Regions from separate parts of the Homo sapiens genome. Here all the other regions are linked to region 3. The links are contacts of gene promoters, found by promoter capture Hi-C in human tissues and cell types (Jung and others, 2019). All regions are on one chromosome and are shown on one strand. The core of a region is centred on a gene start or on the middle of the fragment in contact, and the rest is flanking DNA. Distances in the headings are between cores, read along the strand shown.

Region 1 (2,700 bases), core at 187-2,686, 140 kb before region 3:
TTTGAGGGGACTCTTCCTGCAGCCCTTGCCTGCCTGAGCCTGTGACGCTCCCTTCATGGTGCTCTCACACACAGAAGTCACTATAATGAGCAATATGAACTGGTGGTCCTGCCAATGAAGATCTGGGGGATTTCTGTAAAGACTCCAGGACTCTTGATGAGACATAAGAAGAGGTTCCTTATTGAATGACTGATATCAGGGAACAACTCTTAAGAACTGTGAAACCAAAATTCCAGAAGACACAGCTTGATAATATGCAAGACGACTATCAGTGGTGAACTCCACTTGACATTTTGAGTAGCGGCAACCCCATTCTGGCATTGCGTGTGTGCATGTGTGTGAGCTATTAACCATTCTCTCCTTAAGCACATCTGTATTCTGGCCCACTCTTAGCTGGTAATATTAAGATTTTAAAGGGAAATTTTAAATTTATTGAGGGACATTCCAATGTCCCTAAATAGCTGTGCAGCATTTGACTTTGTTCATACACACTGCACCAGCCGCTATGCTAAAGAACATAAAGACTATCTCTGCATTTAAACAACAAAGAGATAATGTGAGTTTAATCCCCATAATCAGGTTGTTAACAAAAAATGTTTAGGCTGAACATTTTACTTAATACCTTACCTTTCGCAAGTGTAACACTCGCAGAACTCATTATTTTCTCCAAAGAACCCATCTCCATAATAACAAGAAATTTCTTCTCCAGGTTCAATGTCTCTTAGAGCCTTCACACATGCTGTATCTCGACCAGTTGACACAAACTAAAATAAAAGTAACTCAGTAAGAAACTCACACCTGAAGCAAAAACAAAATACTTGAAGAAAATTTTTTTAATGCTTACCTTACAATTAGGTCTGCAATCTGAAAAATGTCCAAAAGATAAAGTCAATTAACTGTTGATAAGATCTGAAACACGAACAATTATAGAAATCTGAAATAAGCTTTCCATATAACTTTACAACTTTTGATAGGAGTTTAGGTCTCAAGTTCAACTAAAGGAATATACATTTATTTTAATAAGTTTGTGGAAACATTTCTATTTCAAATTCTCCTTTAAAGGAAGATAAAGGTTTGACTGAGGTTGACAAGGCCATTCTAGCAGTTAGCAGGAATGGCCAACACTAGCGCCAACACCTTGGAAACACAGCTTACCATGGTTTATAAACGCAGCAGGACCCAGCCAGAGTTGAGCACAGTTTTTCCTTGTGGAGTACATGACACTGAAGTCGTTTTCTCCATGTCTAAGTAGCATGTTCTCCTCAATTTCTGAAAGTTCGGCAATACAACCCACCAGTAATTCTATTTTGTCATTTCGTTTCCTATTTAAAATATGTGATGTGTTAAAAATTACTAGTAATTAAATATAGTAAGGCTTCTTTTAATAAAATAATCCTGACAATAAATATCAGAAACTGAAAAGGCCTAGCTGTCTATACTTTAGTTAGCTCACTGGGATCCCCACCTGGCTATCTTCTCTCCTACCCTGGAGCTCCACAGCCTTGTGCCATGGTTACTTGTGTACCTATCTTATTCCTGCAAGAGAATGGAAACTCAACCAGGACAGGGACTATGCCACCTATGTCTCTGAATGCCCTGGTGTGGTGTTTTGCAAGCAGAAAGTACTCAAATACTTGCGGCAATGAATTAAACTTTCTGACTGCTGGATGAAGCAGGCAGGGACCAGTGGCAGTAAGGGTTATGAGGATCCGGAATCATGGTGCCACTCTTTAGAGCACACCATCTGCTAGGAATATAATGCAAGCCAAATTTTCAATCTTAAATTTTTTAGCAGCCACATTGAGAAAGTTAAGTGAATATAGGTGAAATTACTTTAACAATTTATTTTATTTTATTTTATTTGAGACGGAATCTCGCTCTGTTGCCCAGGCTGGAGTGCAGTGGCGTGATCTCAGCTCACTGCAACCTCTGCCTCCTGAGTTCAAGTGATTCTCCTGCCTCAGCCTAAGTAGCTGGGACTACAGGTGTGTGCCACCACACCTAGCTCATTTTTTTTTTTTGTATTTTTACTAGAGATGGAGTTTCACCGTGTTGGCCAGGATGGTCTCGATTTCTTGACGTCATGATCCGCCCACCTCAGCCTCCCAAAGTGCTGGGATTACAGATGAGCCACCATGCCCAGCCAACAATATATTTTAACCCAATATCCAAAATACGATTTCAGTAGGTAATATAAGAACTATGAATGGGAATAAAATTTAATATGAAATCTGGTGTGTATAGCACACTTACAGCGCTTCTCAATTCAGACTAGCTACATTTCAAGGACTCAAGGGCTGGTGGCTACTGTACCGGACGGTACAGCTCTAGGACTCTAGATCTCAAACCTACACACCCATCTGCAACACAGGGAGCCACATAATCCAACTAGCAGGCTCAATACATCCTGAGGTAAATGAAGCACATTTCATGTACACACACTCACCCCAGAGGCCTGGCAATAAAGTTCTTTTACCTATCCATTTTCAGATATCTGACCCCCCAAATTTTTGTGGTAGAAATATCAGAGGGTGGGTACATGAGGAGCTACATGTTTTTCCTGGGAGATAACATAGGGAACAGGCATGATAGGAAAGAAGATACAGTAGTATATTCTCTTTCATCTGTAACTTTTATCCCTTTTAGCTGGGCTCAACTCTGACTTAATTTTGAGATAGAGTCTCACTCTATTGCCCAGGC
Region 2 (2,700 bases), core at 121-2,620, 150 kb after region 3:
TGGCGGGGATTACAGGCACCCGCCACCATGCCCGGCTGTTTTTTGTATTTTTAGTAGAGATGGAGTTTCACATCTTGGCCAGGGTGGTCTTGAACTCCTGACCTCGTGATCTACCCGCCTCGGCCTCCCAAAGTGCTGGGATTACAGGTGTGAGCTACCATGCCCGGCCACGAGAATCTATTTTTTAGAAGCTTCTCAGACAATACTGAAATGCAGCTGAATTTTGGAACCACTGTTTTACACCACAGGTTTAGGGACTGTTTGTGAGTTAAGGGTTCCTTTCGGTGATCTGTGAACTTGGTCTTTGCAGTACCTAGATCCTGCCTTGGAGATTATTTAGTAGTGGGGATTATTTAGATGGTATACTTAACCATTTTTCAGATGCCTGAAGACTGAACTTTAGAAGCATTTGTTAATTGATTTTATAAAATATCTTAGGACTTTTTTTTCTTAACCTCATGAAAATACATTACCATACTGTGCTGAAACTAAGCAAAATTCTTAGATATTTAGAGTTTGCTTCTGTGCTGAATAATCTTACACTACTGTAATTTTTGAGTTAGTATCTTTTGCCCTCCTTTTGTCAGTCAGTGGTCAGGTCTGGTTTTAGATGCCAGCTTCAACTTTTTTTTTTTTTTTTCGGAGACAGTCTCACTATGTCACCCAGGCTGGAGTGCAGTGGCATGATCTTGGCTCACTGCAACCTCCGCCTCCTGGGTTCAAGTGATTCTCCTGCCTTAGCCTCCTGAGTAGCTAGGATTACAGGTGCGTGCCACCACACCTGGCTCATTTTTGTATTTTTAGTAGAGATGGGGTTTCACCATGTGGGCCAGGCTGGTCCCGATCTCCTGACCTCAAGTGATCCGCCCGCCTCGGCCTCCCAAAGTGCTGGGATTACAGGCGTGAGCCACCATGCCTGTTTTTTGTTTTTGTTTTTGTTTTAATAAAGACCTATTCCCAGAGAATTAGCCCTGGATCAGTTTACCAGTTCTGCCCATTGAGGGCACAGATAGGCATACAGTATGCTCAGCCTTTAACACAGTGATCCTGCCCACTGGTAAGTTGGACTCTTCTGTGCCCTAGACTCTGATCCCAGCAGAGAAGTGTTCTTTTCTCCTGGGGAGATGAGATGCAGTGGTAGAGAGAAGGGTAGATCTTTTTTGCTCATATTAAAATTTAGATTATCTAGTTTATGGAATGGAAGAATATTAGGAAAACTATAAATTTTTAGCAGCTAAATGTTAATATCTGAAGTTACAAAAGGTCATGGAGGCATTTTCTTATTCTTCATCCTGAAATTCGGCCTGTGCCTATGTTGAGAACTACCAGTGACCACCATCTACTTCTAATATCCATTTATTTCATCAGCAAATACATTAATTGAGTCCTTACTCTGCTAGGAACTGTATTAGGGATTCACTGATGAACAGGCCCTTAAGGACCTGCAGTCTAGAGGAAGAGGCAAACAAGAGACGACAAAGCTGTTAAGAATTGTACATGGTGTCAATGGGGCCTGGGAGGAAAGAGCTTCTGTTTGCTGGTCAGTTGGTTGATTTGTTTAAACTTTGGGTGGTTGAGATTGCCAGAAGTTTTGCAAAAGAATAAGATAGTTACACTTTGTTACTCATTTATAAGAAATGATTACTTCGACTTGCCTCCTTAGTTTGAGGAGTCTTAAAAAGCAGTGCCATTCTTCCCATACTGAAGCCGTTTTGTAATGACAGATAGCTGTTTATAGCTCCCTACACAACAGTTATCCTTTGACCAAACCTCAGACACTGACTCTCTGGTTCCAGACCCGTCCGAAGCTTGCTGTAGGTTTTTGCAAAATGTTTCCGGCATTCTTGAAATAGATGCTACTTCAAGTGGGAGGGGGTGTTTCTCCTGCTGCATTATGGATCTAGGTTGACTGGAGATTTTGTTTTGGCCTTTTGACTTTGGCTTAGATTTATTTGTCATGGAAGCCCCCTTTCCTACTTCTCACCCCCTTTAGTTTTATGAGGAGGGAGATAGTTGCTAGTTAGATCAATACTCAGTTTATTTCAGGTATTGAAAGATTACAGACTGACATTTGGATACCAGGTAGGTTGGCTACGTGGTAAAGAAGCAAGTAAAAGGGCATTTGACAGTATGTGGAAAGGTATCTTATCTCTATGCCTAGCTAGGACATTTTCTTTTTTTTTTTTTTTTTTTTGTTGAGACGGAGTCTCGCTCTGTCACCCAGGCTGGAGTGCAGTGGCGTGGTCTCGGCTCACTGCCAGCTCTGCCTCCCGGGTTCACGCCATTCTCCTGCCTCAGCCTCCCCAGTAGCTGGGACTACAGGGGCCGGCCACCATGCCCGGCTAATTTTTTGTATTTATTTATTTATTTTGAGACGGAGTCTCACACTGTCGCCCGGGCTGGAGTGCAGTGGCGCTATCTCGGCTCACTGCAAGCTCCGCCTCCCAGGTTCACACCATTCTCCTGCCTCAGCCTCCCGAGTAGCTGGGACTACAGGTGCCTGCCACCACGCCCGGCTAATTTTTTTTGTATTTTTATAGAGATGGGGTTTCTCCGTGTTAGCCAGGATGGTCTCCATCTCCTGACCTTGTGATCCGCCCGCCTTGGCCTCCCAAAGTGCTGGGATTACAGGCGTGAGCCACCGCGCCTGGCCATTTTTTGTATTTTTAGTAGAGACGGGGTTTCACCGTGTTAGCCAGG
Region 3 (2,700 bases), core at 58-2,557:
GGCCTCTCCTGTACCTTCTACCACCAGCTCCAGCTCATGGCCTGATGTGGTTCCTCCCCCGAATCCAGCGACCAGGCTGCCCTCTGCCCCAGCGCCTCCTCCGTGGATGTCTGCTCTTCCTGAACTGCCCTCCCACCGGACGGCTGCTCCTTGGTAGCAGCTCAAGTGTCCTTCCTTCCCTAAGCCAGTTTCCCCAAACACTGCAGCACAACGCCCTTCATTTCTCATGGCATTCTTCATGGCCTGTCAATGGGGCTTTTGTTGTTTTAATTTTCCGTCTTCTTGTTTTTGTTGGTCTTCCTAGAATATAAACCCCATGAGGGCAGAGGCGTTCAGCCTGACTCCAGCCTGGCAAAGCTGTCACAAATCTGGAGGAACACACACGTTCACGGGCACTCAGTTCTGTGAGGTACTGCAAGCCCTCTCTGAACCTGCAAGGTGGCCATTGCTGTCCCCACTTTACAAAGGAGGAAAGAGTGCGCGGAGAGGTTCTACTTAGACCCGCCAAGGGCACAGTCGTTCTAGAAAGTAGCAGACTGGGAGTTCCAACTTGGGCTTGCTGGTTCCAGAGCCCCTTCTGTGCCCCTTCCAGGCTGTGCCTGGGTGAGATTCTTCTCCTACCAGCACGTCTTCTTCCTGGAGGGTTCAGTGGCTGAGCTGACACCGGTGGGCAAGAGGCCCTGGCGGGCTTGTTGAAGGACTCAAAGGTGGCGTCTGGGAGCCTGGCGGGACTTTCTCCCTGTCAGCCTAGAGGCACTTTTAGAGGAGTGTGTCTGTTTCGCAGTCTTCGTGTCTCATAATTCATAACTAAGGTAGAGGGTACACATTTAGTTTACAGTAAAACCTCAAACCCACCTCCACTCCCAGCCGGCCACTTCTCTCCCTGTTCCCTTCTCTGCCCTCCACAGGTGAGAACAAGTGTCCGGGGCCGCCCCGTGGGGCCCCAGGCTGCCCGCCCTGAAACTGCCTCGCTGTGTGCCCTTGGGCAACCCCGCCCTGCTCCGTGCCTCAGTTTCCCCACTCATAGAGGCTCCACAGGTGACACACCTGGCTCCGGGCCCCGATCGGCCGCCGGGCCCCGCGGGGCGGAAACCCCGCGCCAAGCCTCCCGGAGGCACCTCCAGGGCAGGGCGGGGAGCGCGGGGAGGGGCCGCGGGGACCTGCGCCGCTGGGGCCGCCTGGCCGCCGGCCGGCTCCGGGGGGCGCCCGCGGGAGGGCGCGGCCGGTGCGGGGGGCGCGGGTGGCGGCGGCGGGGGGCGGAGACGCGGCGCGGCTTCCGCTCCCGCGCGCCCAGCTCCCTCCTCCCCGTCGTCCTGGTCCGCGGCGCCCGAGGGGGGAGGCGGAGGCGCCGGGAGCCGCGCGAGGAGCCGCCGCCGCCGCGCCATGGAGCCCGAGTGAGCGCGGCGCGGGCCCGTCCGGCCGCCGGACAACATGGAGGCAGCGCCGCCCGGGCCGCCGTGGCCGCTGCTGCTGCTGCTGCTGCTGCTGCTGGCGCTGTGCGGCTGCCCGGCCCCCGCCGCGGGTAGGTGGGCGCAGGCCGGCCGGGGGCCGCGGGTTGCTCGGACAATGGCCCGGGCGGCCCCGCGGCCAAGTGCGCGGGCGCCGCCGCCGTCTCGGAAGCGACTTGGCGAGTTGGGAGCGAGTTGGGGCGCGCGCCCGGGATCCCCCTGCCGTCCCCGGCGTCCCCGCCACGCGCGGGCCCTTTGTCTCCCCACCCGGGCCCTCCCCGGGGACGCTGCGTCCCGGGCTGGCGAGGAGGGCGCCCGCTCCGCCAGGTGCGGCGCGGGCGGGTCCTCACCTGCCCGAGCCCGCGGGAAGCCGGGAGCCGAGCCGAGCCCGCGCTGGGCCCGTGTGGCCCGGGCCGGGCACCGAGCGGGGACTTGGGGCGCGGAGGCGGGCCTGGCCCGGGGAGCCGGTTCGCAAGCCTGTTTCCAGCGGCCGCGCGGCCGCCCCGCGTGCTCCGAGGACGGGCTGAAGTTGCAGCGAGAAAGTTCTGAGCCCGGGCGCGGGGCGGCCTGGCCGGTGGCGCTGCTCCTGTGAGCCGCGTGGCTGTGGGTTTCCAAGCGGACTGACACCTGCCAGGTGCCCGGGCGACCCGAATGCCCCGTGTGGCCGCCGGGTCCCCAGATAGTGTCCATCCCCGGGTCGGCTACGCGGAGGTGACGTGGTCCCAGATCGCGGGGCAGTGGGGGAGGCAGGCTTGTGCCTCAGTTGTACACTCCCGTGGGGAGAGGTAGGGCGGGGGAACTTTCTCTCCAACTTTTGGTGTTTCCCAGGGGGTGGAGTTGAGGTCAGGAGGACTCAGGAAACTTAAGCAGTCGTGAAACGCTACACATGTTCTTTTAATTTGGAGATTGCCATGTGGTTTTTCAAGCAAGCCTCTTGCTACCTAAATCATTCTCTTCGGATGTGCGTGTTTTGTTTTTCTGGAGTATGGCTGGCCAAGTGGCACGGCCGCAAGTGCCTGTGCACGCCGCGGCTCCTGTTCTGTTTGTGGCAGTTTAGCGGGGAGGACCTCGGGCCCCTTTGTCTGGGCCTCCTTAAGGCAAACAGCTGTCTCCCTGAATATTTCCAGTGTGAATGGTGCAGCGGGGTGGCCCTGTAGTCAGATCCCCCAGGCTGCAGCCTCTGCTTGGAGGTGTGGGGGACAGCGGGGAACAGGAGGAGCTTGGAGTTTGTTTCACGTCCTCCTGCCTCTGA
Region 4 (2,700 bases), core at 193-2,692, 170 kb after region 3:
AATGGTTTCACTGCCCTACAGATCCTCTGTGCCTCATCTATTCATCCTTACCTCCCTGCAACCTCTGGCGACCACTAATCCTTTTACTGTCTGCATAGCTTTGTCTTTTCCAGAATGTCATACATTGTTTATGTAGCCTTTTCATATTGGCTTCTTTCACGTAATAATATGCATTAAGTTTTCTTCATGTCTTTTCATGGCTTGATAGCTCATTCCTTTTTAGTGCTGAATAATATTCCATTGTCTGGATGTGCCCAAATTTATTCATTCACCTACTGAAAGATAGCTTGGTTGCTTCCCAATTTTGGCAATTGTGGATAAAGATGCTGTAAATATCCGTGTGCAGGTTTTTGTGTGGACGTAAGTTTTTTCACTTTACTTCGGCAGATACCAAGGAGTATGATTACTGTATTGTACAGAAAGAGTATGTTTGCTGTTTGGAAGAAACTGCCCACAGTGGCTGTACCATTTTATATTCGCACCAGCAATGAATGAGAGTTCCTCTTGCCCCACATTGTTGACAGTGTTTGGTGATGTGTCTTGAGTTTGGCCATTTTAATAGATGTGTTGTGCTATCTCATTGTTGCTTTAATTTGCAGTTCCCTAATGATGTATGATGTTGAACATGTTTTCAAATGCTTACTTGCTGTCTGTAATGTTTGCTCAGGTCTTTTGTCCATTTTTTAATCAGGTTGTTCATTTTTTTGAGTTTTAAGTGTCTATATATATTTTTATATATATATAATATAAGATACATATTTTGAGACGGAGTTTCGCTCTTGTTGCCCAGGGTGGAGTGTAATGGCACAGTCTTGGCTCACTGCAACCTCTGCCTCCTGAGTTCAAGTGATTTTCCTGCCTCAGCCTCCGGAGTAGCTGAGATTACAGGTGCCCGCCACCACGCCCAGCTAATTTTTGTGTTTTAGTAGAGATGGGGTTTCACCATGTTGGTCAGGCTGGTCCCAAACTCCTGACCTCAGGTGGTCCACCCACCTCGGCCTCCCAATGTGCTGAGATTACAGGCATGAGCCACAGCGCCCAGCCTTCTTTATATATTTTTGGATAATAGTTGATTATCAAATGTGTTGTCAGATTTTGATCAGGATTGCATTGAATCTGTAGATCAAGTTAGGCAGAACTGATATCATGACAATATTGAACCTTCTTATCCATGAACATGGAATATCTCTTCATTTGTTTAGTTCTTCTTTGGGGTCTGTCATCAGAGTTTTATAGTTTTCCTTATATAGATCTTGTACATATTTTGTTTTATACCTAAGTATTTCATTTTTTGGATATGTTAATATAAATAATTTTTTTTTTATTTTCAAATTCCACTTGTTCCTTGCAGGTATATAGGAAAGCAGTTGATGTTTGTATATTAACCTTGTAGCCTGTAACCTTGGTATAATGGCTTATAAGTTCTGGGACTTTTTTTTTTTTTTTTTTTCAATTCCTTCACATTTTCTCCATCATGTTGTCTGTCAACAAAGACAGTTTTATTTTATGCTTTCCAATCTGTATACTTTTTATTTCCTTTTCTTATTGAATTAGCTAGGACTTCCAGTATGATATGATGGAAAAGGATGATGAGAGGGAACATCTTTGCCCGCTTCCTGATCTTAGTGGGAAAGCTTTAATTTCTGACCATCAATTATGATGATAGTTGTAGGTTTTTGATATATGTTGTTTATCAAGTTGAGGAAGCTTCTTACTGTTCCTAGTTTTCTGAGTGTTTTTTGAAATGAACAGGTGTTGGATTTTATTAAATGCCTTTTCTGCATCTGTTGATGTGATCAGGTGAGTCTTCTTGAACCTACTGATGTGATGGGTCATGTTAATTAATTGATTTAAAAAATTATTTATTTTGAGACAAGAGTCTCACTTTGTCACATAGGCTGGAGTGCAGTGGGATGATCTTGGCTCACTGCAGCCTTGGCCTCCTGGGCTTAAGCAATCCTCCTGTCTTAGTCTCCCAAGTAGCAGGGACTACAGGTGTGTGCCATCATGCCCGGCGACAGATTTTTGATTATTAAAGCAGCCTTGGCTGGGCACAGTGGCTCACACCTGTAATCTCAACACTTTGGGAGGCCAAGGCAGACAGATCACTTGAGGCCAGGAGTTTGAGACCAGCCTGAGTGACACAGTGAAACCACTTTCTTAACTAAAAATACAAGAAAAAAAAAAAAGCTACACCTAATTTTTTGAGACTCAAAAAGAGTCTCAAAAAGAAAAAAATTAAAGCAGCCTTAAATACGGGATAAATATTTGGTTGTGGTATATAATTTTTTATATATAATGCTTTTTATGTATAATTATTTTTATGTATTGATTCAGTTTTCCCATATTTTGTTGAGGATTTTTATATCTGTGTTCATGAGAGATACTGATTTGTACTTGCCTTGTAGTGTCCTTGTCTGATTTTGGTATTATGGTTATGCTGACCTCATAGAATGAATTAGAAAGTATTCTGTCTGCGACTGCCGGGTGCAGTGGCTCACACTTGTAATCCCAGCACTTTGGGAGGCCGAGGCGGGTGGATCACAAGTTCAGGAGATCAAGACCATCCTGGCTAACACGGTGAAACCCCATCTCTCTTAAAAATACAAAAAATTAGCTGGGTGTGGTGGCGGGCGCCTGTAGTCCCAGCTACTTGGGAGGCTGAGGCAGGAGAATGGCGTGAACCCGGGAGGCGGAGCT

The links. The method cuts DNA at HindIII sites, captures the fragments that hold promoters and counts their contacts. A contact is called where the count stands out against the background at its distance.
Region 1: a fragment that was not itself captured here is called in contact with the fragment with the promoter of LRP5 in region 3 in 3 of the 25 tissues and cell types used here (IMR-90 fibroblasts, adrenal gland and aorta).
Region 2: a contact is called between a fragment that was not itself captured here and the fragment with the promoter of LRP5 in region 3, in 2 of the 25 tissues and cell types used here (dorsolateral prefrontal cortex and mesendoderm cells).
Region 4: a contact is called between a fragment that was not itself captured here and the fragment with the promoter of LRP5 in region 3, in 1 of the 25 tissues and cell types used here (hippocampus).

The regions. Positions count from the first base shown.
Region 1 is chr11:68,170,388-68,173,087 of GRCh38, forward strand. KMT5B (lysine methyltransferase 5B) reads right to left here. Exons shown (of 11, transcript NM_017635.5): 7 at 1,156-1,322; 8 at 845-864; 9 at 628-764. Among named protein-coding and RNA genes, the nearest start is that of KMT5B, 42 kb to the right of the region's middle. The HindIII fragment of the contact is 8,103 bases long and covers 1-2,700 here.
Region 2 is chr11:68,464,260-68,466,959 of GRCh38, forward strand. The region is part of intron 1 of PPP6R3 (protein phosphatase 6 regulatory subunit 3); the gene reads left to right. Among named protein-coding and RNA genes, the nearest start is that of PPP6R3, 4.9 kb to the left of the region's middle. The HindIII fragment of the contact is 5,718 bases long and covers 1-2,700 here.
Region 3 is chr11:68,311,284-68,313,983 of GRCh38, forward strand. It overlaps LRP5 (LDL receptor related protein 5), which reads left to right and starts at 1,308. Exons shown (of 23, transcript NM_002335.4): 1 at 1,308-1,522. The coding sequence starts at 1,432. LOC124900302 (a long non-coding RNA gene) reads left to right here and starts at 2,166. Exons shown (of 2, transcript XR_007062749.1): 1 at 2,166-2,700. RefSeq lists silencers at 933-1,222, 1,243-1,442, 1,633-1,792, 1,803-1,872 and enhancers at 1,294-2,169, 2,170-2,700. The HindIII fragment of the contact is 14,214 bases long and covers 1-2,700 here.
Region 4 is chr11:68,483,843-68,486,542 of GRCh38, forward strand. The region is part of intron 1 of PPP6R3 (protein phosphatase 6 regulatory subunit 3); the gene reads left to right. Among named protein-coding and RNA genes, the nearest start is that of PPP6R3, 24 kb to the left of the region's middle. The HindIII fragment of the contact is 3,598 bases long and covers 1-2,700 here.